Regions from separate parts of the Homo sapiens genome. Here all the other regions are linked to region 1. The links are contacts of gene promoters, found by promoter capture Hi-C in human tissues and cell types (Jung and others, 2019). All regions are on one chromosome and are shown on one strand. The core of a region is centred on a gene start or on the middle of the fragment in contact, and the rest is flanking DNA. Distances in the headings are between cores, read along the strand shown. Region 1 holds the start of ATXN2L (ataxin 2 like). Region 2 overlaps MVP (major vault protein). Region 3 holds the start of TBX6 (T-box transcription factor 6). Region 4 holds the start of SEZ6L2 (seizure related 6 homolog like 2).

Region 1 (3,389 bases), core at 60-2,559:
CACTTTCTTAAATAAGCTCCCCACTGCTTTGAGGATAATGTCCGTGTCTCTTACAAGACTTGGGAGCCTTTAAAACCTGATCCCAGATTAGCTACCTCTTCCCCCCTTTAATTTTATGCTTAGGACAAGCTGAGTTTTTCTTAGTTTGTCATATCCTATTTCCCTGCCTAGAAACCCATCTCCCCCTGCCCTCTTATCAGTTTTTTTTTATAATTTAAATTTTTTTTTTTTTGTAGAGACAAAGTCTCACTTTGTTGCCTAGGCTGGTCTCAAACTCCTGGCCTTAAACGATCCTTCTGCCTCGGACTCCCAAAATGTTAGGATTACAGGTATGAGCCACTGCGCCCGGCCCTCCTGTCCCTTATCTGGGTCTCCCAAAACTGGATTAAGATTAGGTGTCACTCCCATTTGCTCTTGTAGTCCTCTGTGCTTCACCTACTAGATCTCGTCAAATTCTCTGAATTCACCACTAGCATGAACTCCTCCAGAGCAGGAAGCAGTTTAATTATCCTTGTGTCCAAAACAACTAACTGAATACTCCAATGCCCAACTCATTTTGAATGAATGAAGCTGCCTTCATTGCAGGGTCGGGTGGAGGATTTTGAACTCGGAACTTTGGCCTTCAGTCTTTGTTATTACAGTTTAAAGATTCATTCTCGGGCATGGAGGAACAATTTAGGTCAAAATCACAAAAATCTGAAATAATTTAGGACGAGGCGTAAATTTATCTGCAAAGATCAACACGCTCAAACGAATCACTAATGCTCATCAGTCTTTTACTTAAAGCAAACAAGGTGGAGGGTAGCTCCTTGCGAAACCTACCACCTGCCTAAAAGCGCAGTGGCTCGGGTGGTCCAGTCCCGGAGACTTTCTTGGCACTTAAGGCTCTGCCCACGGGCCGCCAAGTGGCGGAAGAGCCTCACGCACGACGTGCCGCCTCACACTCCCGCGGAGGCATCGCGACGCAGCGACGGCGTGGGCGGAGAGGCCGGCCCTTCCTCTGGCGCCTTCGGCTCCTCCCCCTGCGCCTCACACGCTCATTGTGAAGCGACAGCGGCCGCCGGCTTCTAAGGCGGTTTGAGACCTTAAGACCCTAAATCCTTGGCGCGCGTGAGCGCCCGCGCCGCTCCTTACCCACTCCCAGGGCTAGGGGTGCGAGGTTCACCGACTTGATTCTCTCCCACTTTCCCGCCGGGAGCTAACCGCGCCGGTGTGCGCGGCACCTCGCGCCACTGCTCGCTCCTGGCCCCCCCCCCCCCCCCCCCCCCCCGGGAGCTCCCACCCGCGCGCTCCTCCCTCTCCGCTCCCCGGCGACGCGCACGCGCGCCAGCCCGGCTCGCGCCCTCTCGCTTTCCTCCAGCCGCGAGACCCCCTCCCCTTCCGCCTCGCGGCGCTTCCTCGCGCCGCGGTCTTCTCTCTCCACCCCCGACACCGCGGGGCTCCCCCCGCCCGCCCACGGCGGGCCCCGGCTGCCCGATCCCCCTCGCTTCCCGCGCTCTCCAGCGGGGCCCCAGCCCCGGCCCCCTCTCTCCCTCCCTTCTCTCTAATTCCCCTTCCGGACGCTGCCATCATGTTGAAGCCTCAGCCGCTACAACAGCCCTCCCAGCCCCAGCAGCCGCCCCCCACGCAACAGGCCGTGGCCCGTCGGCCCCCCGGGGGCACCAGCCCTCCCAACGGCGGCCTCCCGGGGCCGCTGGCCACCTCTGCGGCTCCTCCCGGGCCTCCAGCGGCCGCCTCCCCCTGCCTGGGGCCTGTGGCCGCTGCCGGGAGCGGGCTCCGCCGGGGAGCCGAAGGCATCTTGGCGCCGCAGCCGCCGCCGCCGCAGCAACACCAGGAGAGGCCGGGGGCAGCCGCCATCGGCAGCGCCAGGTGAGAAGGGTGGGCTCCGGGCGAGGGAGCCGCGGCCACCCAGAGGCTGTGGCTCGGTTCCGGTGGGGCGGACCCCGACCCGGCACCGTCAGGGGCACCGGCTGGGTGGGGAGTCCCCGTGAAGCTGGGGGAGGGCCCCCTCAGGTCCGAACAGGTCGGACGGAAAGGGTCCCCGGGCGGCCACCGGAGCACTGAGGGGCCGCGCTCGGCTCTCGGGGCCTAGTCAGGGCTCGCAGCCCCGGCCTTCAGGGGAGGCGGGGCGCATCCCGCCGGCGCCGTCGGAACGGGGAGTTGGGGGGGGGCAAGGAGCTGATCGGGGTCCCCGGTTCCATTACCACGAAGGGTCTCGCGGTCCCCGGCTTCAGCCAATGGGGAGTCTGCTGCGGGAAGGGGTCCCCGGCCGTAGCCAATGGAGGGGGGCGCGCGGCCCACAGTTTGGCCAATGGGGAGGGAGGGACTTGGGAGCGGGTTGCTGCCTCCCCCTTCCCGGTCTGGCCAGTAGGAGGGGAGCGAGGTGGGCGGGGGGACGGAAGGAGGGATGACTGGGAGGACTGCGGGCCGGGAGCCTCTGGCGCGCGCGCCCCCTTCCCGTACGTGCGCGTGGATGCTCGGTCTCATGACCCGGGCATTCGCGCGCCCCGGGAACACCTAGGGCAGGGACTAGTTCGTGGAGGGGCTCGTCTGGTGGCAGTGCATGAGTAGTGGAGGCCCTGCTCAGTTTTTCCTGTGCGAGTGTGTGTGTGTTAATGGAATTAAGAGTGGCAGCACACGCAGGCGCAGTGGGCTCTGATCGCTGGAGGTGGGGGTTCGGAAAGTCCCGTGGGTTTTAGTGCGCAGGCGCAGACCGGGCGAGGCCTCCCGGTGGATGGCTTTTGCGGCTGCGCTGTCCCCCAGCCCCGCCAGCGGCCCCCTCTTCGCCCTCAACCGCCGGTTACATCAGCCAGCGACGAGCAGGGTTACCTGGCGATTGGTGATCCCCGCAGAGTGGGTAACGGGCTGAATGAGTCATGAGGTCGAGGGGATGGGGTGTGGAGGGGATACCCCTCCTCCCACAGTTTTGAGGCGTCAGGCTGCTGAAAATGATTGTCTTTTCTGTTTGGGAGGTAATGTACCTGAGCTAGGTAGTTCCAAAGCTGCACTCCTGGAGCTTTTGCCCTCACAGCTGGCGTGGCTTTTTGGTTAATACTGTAGCATTGATCTGTTGGTAGCCTGCAGCCCTAGCCCCTTTCTCGTTGGTTCTTAGAGCAATTGACAACCATTGTTGATTGAGATCTTTTTGCTGGCATTTGGAGGAAATGTGTTTGCTGGCTTATTAATGTCTATTTTTTTCTTCCTCTACAAGGTGACAGTTTGAAAATCTTATTTATTGGCCGGGCGCAGTGGCTCACGCCTGTAATGCCAGCACTTTAGGAGGCAAAGGTGGGAGGATCCCTTGAGCCCAAGGAGATCGATACCAGCCTGGGCAACACAGATGGGAAATCCCATCTCTACTAAAAATTAAAAAAAAAAAAAGCCAGGAG
Region 2 (3,367 bases), core at 868-3,367, 1.0 Mb after region 1:
AGTACAATGGCGCAATCTCGACTCACTGCAACCTCTGCATCCCTGGTTCAAGCAATTCTCCTGCCTCAGCCTCCCGAGTAGCTGAGACTACAGTTGCCTGCCACCATGTACGGCTAATTTTTGTATTTTTAGTAGAGACGAAGTTTCACCATGTTGGCCAGGCTGGTCTCGAACTCCTGAGCTCAGGCAATCCGCCTGCCTTGGCCTCCCAAAGTGCTGGGATTACAGCCACTGCGCCCGGCCTGAAACTGATCTTTATCCTCCTCCCAGTTCCTACTGTGCACCAGAGACCCTCCAGTCTCTAATACCTTTGACTTGAAGAGCAGTCATTTTTTTTTCCTTTTCTTTTCTTTTCTTTTTTTTTTTTTTTTTTTTGAGATGGCCTCACTCTTGCCCAGGCTAGAGCGCACTCGTGTGCTCCATTTACGGCTCACTGCAGCCTTGACCTCCCAGGCACAGGCGATCCTCCCACCTCAGCCTCCAAAGTAGCAGGGACCACAGGTGTGCACCACCACACCTAGCTAATATTTTTTATGGTTTTTATAGAGACAGGGTCTCCCTATGTTGCCCAGGCTGGTCTTGAACTCCTGGCCTCAAGTGATCCTCCCATCTTGGTCTCCCAAAGTGCTGGGATTACAGGTGGGAGCCACCAAGCCTAGTCAACAGTCACTTTTATTCTCACTTCACTGGAGAGGAAGGCTCAGAGGCTAGTAAGTGGCCCAGGAGCATGCTGGCAGTGATAAAACCTGCTGGAGTGACATTTTCCCACTGGCTCTCAATCCTGGATATATATTAAGAGTCAGAGGCCAGGCGCGGTGGCTCACGCCTGTAATCCCAGCACTTTGGGAGGCCAAGGCAGGCGGATCACGAGGTTAGGAGATCAAGACCATCCTGGCTAACACAGTGAAACCCCATCTCTACTAAAAATACAAAAAAAATTAGCTAGGCGTGGTGGTGGGTGCCTGTAATCCCAGCTGAGGCAGGAGAATGGCATGAACCCGGGAGGCGGAGCTGCAGTGATCCGAGATCGTGCCACTGCACTCCAGCCTGGGTGACAGAGCGAGACTCGTCTCAGAAAAAAAAAAAAAAAATGAGGGAGAACTTTTTACAATAGCAACGGGTGAACCTCACCCAGACCAATTAAATAGAATCACCGGAGATGGGTGGCTTTAAAAAAAGGTCTCCAGAAGGCCTGGCGCGGCAGATCACACCTGTTATCCTAGCCCTTTGGGAGGCCGAGGTGGGTGGATCACTTCCAGCCTGACCAACATGGCGAAACCCTGTCCACTAAAAACAAAATTATCTGGGTGTGGTGGCGGACATCTGTAATCCCAGCTACTTGGGAGGCTGAAGCAGGAGAATTGCTTGAACTCGGGAGGCAGAGGTTGCAGTGAGCCGAGATGGCTACACTCCAGTCTGGGCAACAAGCACGAAACTCCATCTCAAAAAAAAAAAAAAAAAAAAAAAAAAAAAACAGATTTCCAGATGACCAGTGTGCAGCCCGAGCCGAGAGTCTGCTTTAGACCAGAGCTGCTCAGACTGTAATGTGCATGCAAGTCATTGAGGGTCGAGTTAAAATGCCAGTAGATTCAGTGGCTCTGGGGTGGGGCCCCAGGCTGTGTTGCTATCAAGCCTCCAGGTGGTACCACTCTACTCACTGCAGACCCCGTAGGCAGTGTGGTCACTTGGTCAATTGCCATTTAAGACTCACTAGGGGCCAGGTGTGGTGGTTCACGCCTGTAATCCTAGCACTTTGGGAGGCTGAGGCAGGCAGATTGCCTGAGCTCAGGAGTTTGAGACCACCCTGGGGTGAAACCCCATCTCTACTAAAATACAAAAAATTAGCCAGGCTTGGTGGCATGTGCCTGTAATTCCAGCTACTCGGGAGGCTGAGGCACGAGAATTGCTTGAACCTGGGAGGTAGGTGGACGTTGCAGTGAGCCGAGATTGTGCCACTTCACTCCAGCCTGGGCTACAGTCTCCAAAAAAAACAAAAAAGAGATTCAGTATATCAGCTACTCACAGTTGACCCTGAAGATCTCTGGGAAGTAGTGACTCATGACTCGTTTATTTATTAAGTTTTGCTGTAGCAGAAGTTTACTTTTGAGCCAAGAGTCTGATCCGGTCTCCCTCTTTTTTTTTTTTTTCTTTCTTTAAAGAGATGGGGCCTTGCTATGTTGCCCAAGCTGGTCTTGAACTCCTGGCCTCAATCCATCCTCCCACCTTCGGCCTCCCAAAGTGTTGGGATTACAGGTGTGAGCCACCTCTCTCAGGCAAGAGCCCCTCTTTTAACTAGACAATGAACCTGGTTTCTGCTTTGGACAGGCTATTTAGTTCCTGCTTATTTACCCTCATGGTGGGAGAGACCCTGGTGGGATTTGGGGTGAAAGCTGGCTGTGGTTCTTGCAGGAGCCTCATGACACCTGAGGGAGGTGTGATCAGGCAAGACTGGGCCTCTACACTGAGAGCCGACTAGGGCAGGTCTCAGAAGCAGAGACTGAAGGAAGTTGGGTGGATGAGTGGATCTGGGGAGCAGGGGCCAAGCCTGAGGGCTGGGCAGAGCCTTCCAAAGGTCAACACAATCCTTGCTATTGTCTTTTGAGGGCCCTGATCTATTTTAAGTAAAATGCTCTAACTGCGCATGTCATCTGGAAGGAAACCACAAAAAACTCAATCTGAGACTTGTCACCAATGTGCTGCCTGAGTCAAAGGGTTTCCCTGGCTCACCTCCATAGATGGCGAGGGTAGAAGGCAAGACCTGTCCTGGGTGGTCTAGGCAGAAGGCCCAGGTTTAGGGCATGGCAGGTGGGTGGTCAGGGAGGTGAGGTGGGGTCCTGGTGCTGATGCAGGGGCAGTTGCCGAGGGCTTGGCCTCAGAACAAGGCAGGAGTCCAGCCATGAGGATGACTCTTGCTGAGTCACTGAGCTGGGCGAGGCATTCAGACCCCCTGACTGGGCCCAGCTGGGGCGGCAGATGGTGGAGAGGCCTCAGCTGTGGGGGGTGTTGGGGAGATTATCCACTGATGAACCAAATGGAGGCTGTTCCCAGAGCCTGCTTCCAACCTTGCACGGCCTTCTAGAGTTCAAATCTTTCCTGGGGGGGCCTCAGAGCCCTGTCCATACCTCCGCTCACAGCCCCAGCCCTTCCTCTTCTCCCATCTGGTTTCCTGGCCAGGTTTCGGCCCTGCGGAGAACCCTCCAAGGGAGCAGTGGAAAAAGCTTCACTTGGCAGTAAAGCCCCTACTTGCTGTTCCATCCCTGCAGCTGGGGTGAAATAAGCCACTGACCAGTAAACAACTGAGGCTTAAACCAGCATGCCAGCTCAGGTGGGGAGCCCCCAGCACTGGTTATATTCCCTAGATTCCTCA
Region 3 (3,437 bases), core at 907-3,406, 1.3 Mb after region 1:
AAAACTACAAAAATTAGCCGGGTGTGGTGGTGTGTGCCTATAGTCCCAGCTACTCGGGAGGCTGAGGCAGGAGAATCGCTTGAATCCAGGAAGCAGAGGTTGCGGTGAGCTGACGAGATCGTGCCACTACACTCTAGCCTGGGCAACAGAGCGAGACTCCATCTCAAAAAAAAAAAAAAAAAAAAAAAGAAGCCAGAGGGCGGAATCTTAGAGCTGGAAGGTTTTCTTGTCTCATTTTACATTTGGGGAAACAGGACAGACGGGTTAAGTGATCTGTCACACAGCAGGTTAGGAACAGAGCCATGACTCCTACCCCTCAAAGCCTATTTGCAGAAGCAGGGGTGACTAACTTTCTTGCTAGGAGCTTCCTGTCCCCACCCTCCTCTCCTCCCCTGATCTCCAGCACCAGAATCTGCAGCTCTTAGATGAATTTGCTTTAGAAAAAATATACCCTGCCTGCAGTAGGGCCGAGGACTTTCCATGCTAGGGCTTGAGTTCCTGCCCCAGCTAAAGACCTCATCTAAGGTCAAACACTGACCGTGTCCCTGCCTCTAGGGTGACCCTGGACCTAGTCATATACTGACTCCTATTCGAGTTGCATACTGATCCCGAATCCTGGCCAGATTTCCCTGATGCTGGTCAATGGGCTGGCCCTTGACCCCCTGTCCTTGTCTGGATGCTGGTCTAAGCCACACACTAACCTATAACCCAGAGGGACTTCCTGACCCTGCCCCAGACTGACCCATGACCCTTGCCATAGATTGGTCCCTAAACTCAGCCACAGACTCCACAGACTGGCCCTTAACCCTTGTCACAGAGTGACTCCTGATTCCTGCCACAGAGTAACCCTTGCCCCAGGCCATAGTCAGATTCTAGGCCTAGGCAGAGCTCTAGCCCCTCGGGAACCACCCAGTCCTAGCCCCCTCCCCAGGGACTCTGCCTTTCCCAAGAGACCCCCACCAGAAACACGGACCCTGGCCAGCCCCTCACCTCCCAGCTTTGGTGATGATCATTTCTGTTCCCACAGAGCTGAACTCCTTCCATAGCTCCCGGTTCTCCAGGCTCAGGCTGACCCCCGGGAGGGAATGGAGGGCCTCTGGAGCTGATGGGGCCGGCTCAGTGCCCATGGCAGGGGGCAGAAGGGGCAGAGGTGGGTGCGCGGCCAGGGTGCGGGGAGCAGCCTCCATCCCGGAGAGGAAGCAATCCAGTTTAGGGGTGTCCAGTTCTGGAAGCCGGGGAAGAATGAGGAGCCAGCCGAGGGCCACAGCCCCCCTATTCTCCTACCCAGGAGCTGGTCCCAACGCTCACCGGGGTAGCGGTAGCCCTCCGCTAGGGCGGGTGGGAAGCTGGAGTCGGCCCCAGGTTGGGCGGGCCCCAGGCGGTAGCCGGCCCCCAGGGACGGGTACAATTCTCGTGGATGGTACATGTTGTAGTTCCGTCTGGCCTCAGGTCTCGCTGCTTAGGGCCCCCGGTGCTGCGAGATGCCCCCTTTATAGCTCACAGCTCAGCCCCTTCCAGATCCAGGATCACAGCCCCTCCCCTCTTTGGGGCCCTGGAGTTGGGCTGGGGTGGAGACCCCTGGGGCCTCGAAGGGGTCCGAGAGGGGGTCGGATACCTGGGTACGGTCCCCTCCTCCCCTCCCTCCCCACCCCGGGAGGCTTCATTAGCCTCGACCCCCTGCCCCCTCATTACATAATTAACTCCTCGGCTTGATTGATCCCCAGGGCTCGGACAGGGACGCAGTTTGGCGCTTCCGGCCAGCTGGTCCCCGTTCCCACGGTGGGGAGCCCCGGCTAGGGATAAGCTGGGGGGCGGGGCCTGGAACCTGGACGGAGCCAAGAGTCCCGGGACACACCTTGGCGCCCCAGACCTTCTGGCAGGTGACCGCCCTCCGCCCCCCTTCACTTGGAGGCCGGGCCCTGGAGGGAAGCAGCGTGAACAGAGGGAAAGTGCAGGCTAGAGGGACGCGGCCTGAGCTGATTTCACAGGGCACTCGGGGCCGCGAGGAGGCCGCAGCCCAGTCCCGAGCACCGTAGTCCTCCCTGGTCCCCATGCTAAAAAAACCTCCATCCCGAGCCAAGCCTCCAAAGTTCGAAGGCGCTCACAGTCCGACAGCTTCTGACGCCTCGCGCCAGGGTTTCCCGAAGGTCCCGCGCTGGGGAACCCTCGGAACTACACTTCCCGGCAGGCTCAGCGCTGAGGCGCGCCCGAAGGAGCCGGACGGACCACGCGGGGGCCGCTGGGAGTTGCAGTCCGACCGCGAGGGGGCTGCGAGGCCGGCGGCGCGGTTGCCTCCCTGGGACGCTGCCCCTAGGCGGCGGCCAAACGCTGCAGATGAGCAGACGCAGATCAGCCGAGGTCACGGCGTAGGCAGCCAGAGTGGGCTCAGGACCTCCGCCAGCAGTGAAACCGTCCCGGTTCCCGGAGACCCAGCTTGGACGGCTGTGCCTACCCCATGCCCCGCCGGGGCTCAGAACCGCACAGGTCTATAGGGGCGGAAATCTCCGCTTGAGCTCCCCCTTCCCGGATTACACGCGAGCCTGAGCTGTCTCCACTCCATTGTTTTATTATGTACAAACGCTACAGAACGAGGGGGACAGACACGCGTGGGGTAAGAAGGGCCTGGTGGGAGGAGTTCACAGAGCAGACGGTGCACTGGGACCAGGAGAGCAGAACACAGGCCATAACTATAGGGCAGGTGGGGCAGGAACGGGTTAAAAACGAGATCCAAGCCAGCCAGATCGCAGGAGGTGCGGGGGCGTCGTCCCCCTTCTGTTCTCCCCCCAAGGTCACAGTGCATGCAATAAAATATATATACAGGAGCTAGATCCGTCCTCTGCAGGGGCTCTGAGGGTCCAGAGCTCCCTTCGGGTGGCGGGAAGCCAGTGGCGCTCCCTGGCGGCCAGGCCGGGCTGGAGCCACATGCGTCGGGGGAGCGGGGGTCAGTCCCAGCCGTTGTCTTTGATCATGTGGTTGAGTTCAATGATGTACTTCCCCTCTTTGTACTTCTGGCTGCTCTCAAAGGCCTGTTCCTGAAAGGAGGGGCGGGACCGTCATCCCCGGAGCAACAGTCTCACCACAAGGCACTGGGGTTGGGAAGTGGACATGAGTGGCCCCATTTTACATATGAGGAAACTGTGGCCCAGAGGGGCAGGGCCGTATTTCTCACAAACACAGAGTAGAATAGAACTCCCTGACTCAAAGGTACTTTTTTAAGTACTAATGATGGCTCCAACAGAGAAGATAGGGAAGTGGCTAAAAGATTTCACAGTTCAGGGTTTGCAAACTGGTAGCTTCATGGCCATTTTGGCCTACAACATGTATTATGTTTGGACAGCAGACAGTTTAATAAAAATAACTTTAAAGTATTAAAATATAAGTAGGCCTTGCTCACTCCAGTTTGCCCAGCCTGCCCCCAACTCCCAACCCTGCCAATC
Region 4 (3,193 bases), core at 465-2,964, 1.1 Mb after region 1:
CACTCTGGGGGCCTCACCTGGCAGGTAGCCCATCTCTGGGCCCCTCCTCAGCAGGGCCCCATGAAGCAGTTCAGCCAGGGCCTCAGAGGCCACCGTGGGGGTCTCACTTCCAGGCTCTGGCAATATCTCCTCCTCCTTCAGGGGCAGACCTAGGAGGTGAAGTTGTGTGAGCTTCTCCACTTCCCCACACCCCTTCCTTCTCCAGAGAGATATTTTCTAGAACTCTTCCTCCCTCCTCCATCAGCTGGGCCTGCAGGGGCTCAGATGGTCCCAGGCTCGACTGAGGGCCAAGATCGGAGGAGGGGCTCCCAGCTGCCCTCATACTCCCACTCCCACACCTCTTCTCTCCCCTCCCCTCTCCCTTCTCCCTGGGCTGTGTGGGCCTTCATTGAACACCTTAGCTCTTATGGACCCTGGACAGCGCCAGCAAGGCAGAGGGGTCGCCGGTGCTGCCTTCCCTTTCACCTCAGTGGTGATCTCCCCCCAACCCTGGGGCTCTGCAGAGGATCTGGCCGCACCTCCCAGCCCTTGCTTCCGCAGTGCCTGGCTTTCTCTCTGGGTTTCTGTCTCTGCAGTGTGGCTGTCTTTTCTCTCTCTCTCTCTCTCTCTCTCCCCCCCACCCTCTCTCTCTCTGGTCCTCTGCAGTCTCTGCCTCCTTCCCTGGAGTCTGGCTGGGGGTCAGAGTGGGGGACTGAAAATCTGGTCTTTGAGCCCTGCCTCTGCTCATCTGTCTTTGTCCATTCATCCAAGAACAGTTGTGTGTACAGCGCCTGGCATCTCTCTCAGCACCTCCATCTCCCACCCAGGTCCCTCCATGCTTCTGCCGCCTCCGCAGACATCCCCCCAACTTTCCCAGCCCTCCTTCTTGGATCTAGCCCCTGAGACACTGCTAAAAGCTTCTCTCATTCATTTCTCTGCCTTCTCAATATTGAGGGTTAAGGGGCTTCGGGTTCAAGCCTGAAAGCTCTGGCTTGCCCCTTCCCCATCAGCTGTGCCTCTCCCCTCCCCCATGTGCTCGGAAGACCCAGGATATTAAGAGAAAGGAGGGTGGAGGACCCCGCTGGACGCCTTCCTGGGGCCCACCCCCACAGTCTCATGTCCTTACCCTGGATCCAGGGACAGCTCAGCAGAATTAGGAACAGCAGCTGGGGAGGCGGCGGGTGCTGGGCCCTGGGAGTCCCCATGGCGACTCACCCCGATCTCTCTCCTCTGTGCCTCTCTAAGTAATCTGGCTGCCACCTTTCCTCCGTCTCCGTTTATCTTTCCCTTTAATTGTTTTTTTTTTTTTTTTTTTTTTCCTCGTAGGAGTCAGCAAAGAAAGACAATTTCTCTGCCCCTTGGGATGGAGGGGCAGAATTGGGCTAGGGGTCGCCTGGAGCCCACCCCCCTTTGCTCAGTCTCCTCTGTCCTCTTCTCGCGGCTCTGTGGTGGAGGGGGCGCGGCTCCGGCTGCAGGGGGTGGGGCCGAGAGGGCCGAAGGGGCCGGGTGGCCTGGGTTACCCTCCTGCTCAGGCGCCTGGGTCCACTGGGCTGTCTGGACCCCAAGCTAGGGGACTGGGGAGGAGAAAGACAGCTTCTGGGGGTTTAGGGTGGGGTCGAGGATCGAGGGGGTCTCCACTGGGCTCTAGCGGGGCTTGTCGGGGAGGGGAAGGGGTGGGTTGGGGAACTGGGAGAGCCGAAGCTCGGGCACTGGAGCTGCGGGAGGGAGAAGCTGAGAAAGGTATCGAGCCCACGTCAGATCCTGGGGACGGGCGGAGGGAGGGGCCTGGGATTTATTTGACGGGGAGGGAGGAGGAGGAAGTGCAGATGGAGGAGGGAGGGATCATACGAGCCAGGGCCGTAATCCTCACTCCCGCGGCCCCTAGGGGAGGCAAAGGAAACTCTCTGGTCCCAGCAGTAATTAGCCCCCTCCGCCTGCCATTCCAGCACATCTGGAATCTGAATCTCCTCTTCCCAGGGTGCCGAGGGGCTGCATAGCTTGGTTCGCGCCTGCTAGGCCCCCAATTATGCCCCCTGTTCACATTCAGACCTCCCAAGGGGCTTCCCTTCCCCTTTTACAGTAGCTCGGGTGGAATGGGCTCTCCCTCCTCCAGGGGAATAGAGAGCTTCCACGATTGTGACAAGTCTCGTGGGTGACGGGCCGGGGTTTGGGGAGGAGAGACAGACCCCTCCTCTTCCATAAACCCTGACCCCGGCCAGCTAACAGGCGGCCTCGGCTCTGATTTTCCCTCCGGAGCGCCCTTTTCAGCACCAGCGGCGCGCGGACAGCTCCCCTCGCCCCGCCGGGGCGGGCCCGGCCCGACGCCGCCCGCGATTGGCTGAGGCCGCTTTCGGTGTTTGCCAGGCTCGCGGGCTCCCGGGCTGCCTAGGGCCAGCGGGAGTCACAGGCCGACCGACCGACGGACCAGCCGCCCGACGGACTGGCCTCAGCATCCTTGCCCGCAGTCCCGGGCGCCTGCCCAGCCGTCAGTCCGCGCTCGCCCCGCCCCTCAGGCCCCGCCCCTCAGGCCCCGCCCGATACGACCCGCCCCTTCTTTCGCATTGCGGGACGGCTGGAGGCTGGCACCGTGGCCCCTGCGCCCCACGTGGCGCCCTTTCCGGGCGGGGGGGGTGGGGAGGCACCTCCAGCGACAACTCTCCCCCCTCCCCCGGCACCCGGCTGATTTGCTGTGCCACTGGGAGGGTTCGGGGGTGGCTGAGCTGAGAGGGCTCCGGGAAGGAGTGACGTCAGGGTGAGTGGGAGCCCAGGAAGGAGCGAGTAGGAGAGAGGGAGCGAGAGCCAGGCAGGACCGCAGGGTCGGGGCTAGTGAGGAGCGAGGGCAAGGAGAGAGCAGTGAGGCCGGAGAGAAAGAAGCTGCCGCGGAGGAAGACAGGCTGCGGGTTCCCGGGACTGCAGGTCCAGGCAGGGTAGGAACCGCTGCCCAGGGGAGCTAGGAGGAAGCGGGGAGAGAGAGCGAGCGAAAAGCGGGGGTGGGGAGGAAAGGGGGAGATTGAGGTGGGAGAGAGAAGCAGAGCGAGAGAGAGGAGGCTGCTGGAAGGAGAAAGAAGAGGGTGAGGAGGCGACAGAGGGAGAGGAGGAAGAAGAGGTAGAAGGAGAGAGAAAGGGGAGAGAAAGGAGAGAGGAGGGTTGGAGGTGCATGAAGGAGGGGAGAGGGAGCTTCAGCGTGGAGAGAGGACCGCGGAAGGAGAGAGAG

The links. The method cuts DNA at HindIII sites, captures the fragments that hold promoters and counts their contacts. A contact is called where the count stands out against the background at its distance.
Region 2: a fragment that was not itself captured here is called in contact with the fragment with the promoter of ATXN2L in region 1 in 1 of the 25 tissues and cell types used here (dorsolateral prefrontal cortex).
Region 3: a contact is called between the fragment with the promoter of TBX6 here and the fragment with the promoter of ATXN2L in region 1, in 1 of the 25 tissues and cell types used here (spleen).
Region 4: a contact is called between the fragment with the promoter of SEZ6L2 here and the fragment with the promoter of ATXN2L in region 1, in 1 of the 25 tissues and cell types used here (dorsolateral prefrontal cortex).

Annotation. Positions count from the first base shown.
Region 1 is chr16:28,821,690-28,825,078 of GRCh38, forward strand. It overlaps ATXN2L (ataxin 2 like), which reads left to right and starts at 1,310. Exons shown (of 22, transcript NM_007245.4): 1 at 1,310-1,869. The coding sequence starts at 1,571. It overlaps LOC124903672 (a long non-coding RNA gene), which reads right to left and starts at 2,353. Exons shown (of 2, transcript XR_007065042.1): 1 at 2,205-2,353. RefSeq lists enhancers at 589-1,325, 837-1,046 and a silencer at 1,367-2,516. The HindIII fragment of the contact is 10,837 bases long and covers 1-3,389 here.
Region 2 is chr16:29,822,768-29,826,134 of GRCh38, forward strand. The region is part of intron 1 of MVP (major vault protein); the gene reads left to right. Among named protein-coding and RNA genes, the nearest start is that of MVP, 4.0 kb to the left of the region's middle. RefSeq lists enhancers at 2,361-2,440, 2,501-2,630, 2,817-3,367. The HindIII fragment of the contact is 4,985 bases long and covers 1-3,367 here.
Region 3 is chr16:30,089,768-30,093,204 of GRCh38, forward strand. It overlaps TBX6 (T-box transcription factor 6), which reads right to left and starts at 2,157. Exons shown (of 9, transcript NM_004608.4): 1 at 2,106-2,157; 2 at 1,309-1,474; 3 at 991-1,225. The coding sequence starts at 1,426. YPEL3 (yippee like 3) reads right to left here. Exons shown (of 4, transcript NM_031477.5): 4 at 2,547-3,032. The coding sequence ends at 2,943. RefSeq lists enhancers at 621-1,494, 2,627-2,816 and a silencer at 2,147-2,406. The HindIII fragment of the contact is 30,865 bases long and covers 1-3,437 here.
Region 4 is chr16:29,897,836-29,901,028 of GRCh38, forward strand. SEZ6L2 (seizure related 6 homolog like 2) reads right to left here and starts at 1,715. Exons shown (of 18, transcript NM_001243332.2): 1 at 1,106-1,715; 2 at 18-149. The coding sequence starts at 1,184. It overlaps ASPHD1 (aspartate beta-hydroxylase domain containing 1), which reads left to right and starts at 2,653. Exons shown (of 3, transcript NM_181718.4): 1 at 2,653-3,193. The coding sequence starts at 3,137. RefSeq lists an enhancer at 1,613-1,907 and a silencer at 2,271-2,700. The HindIII fragment of the contact is 10,220 bases long and covers 1-3,193 here.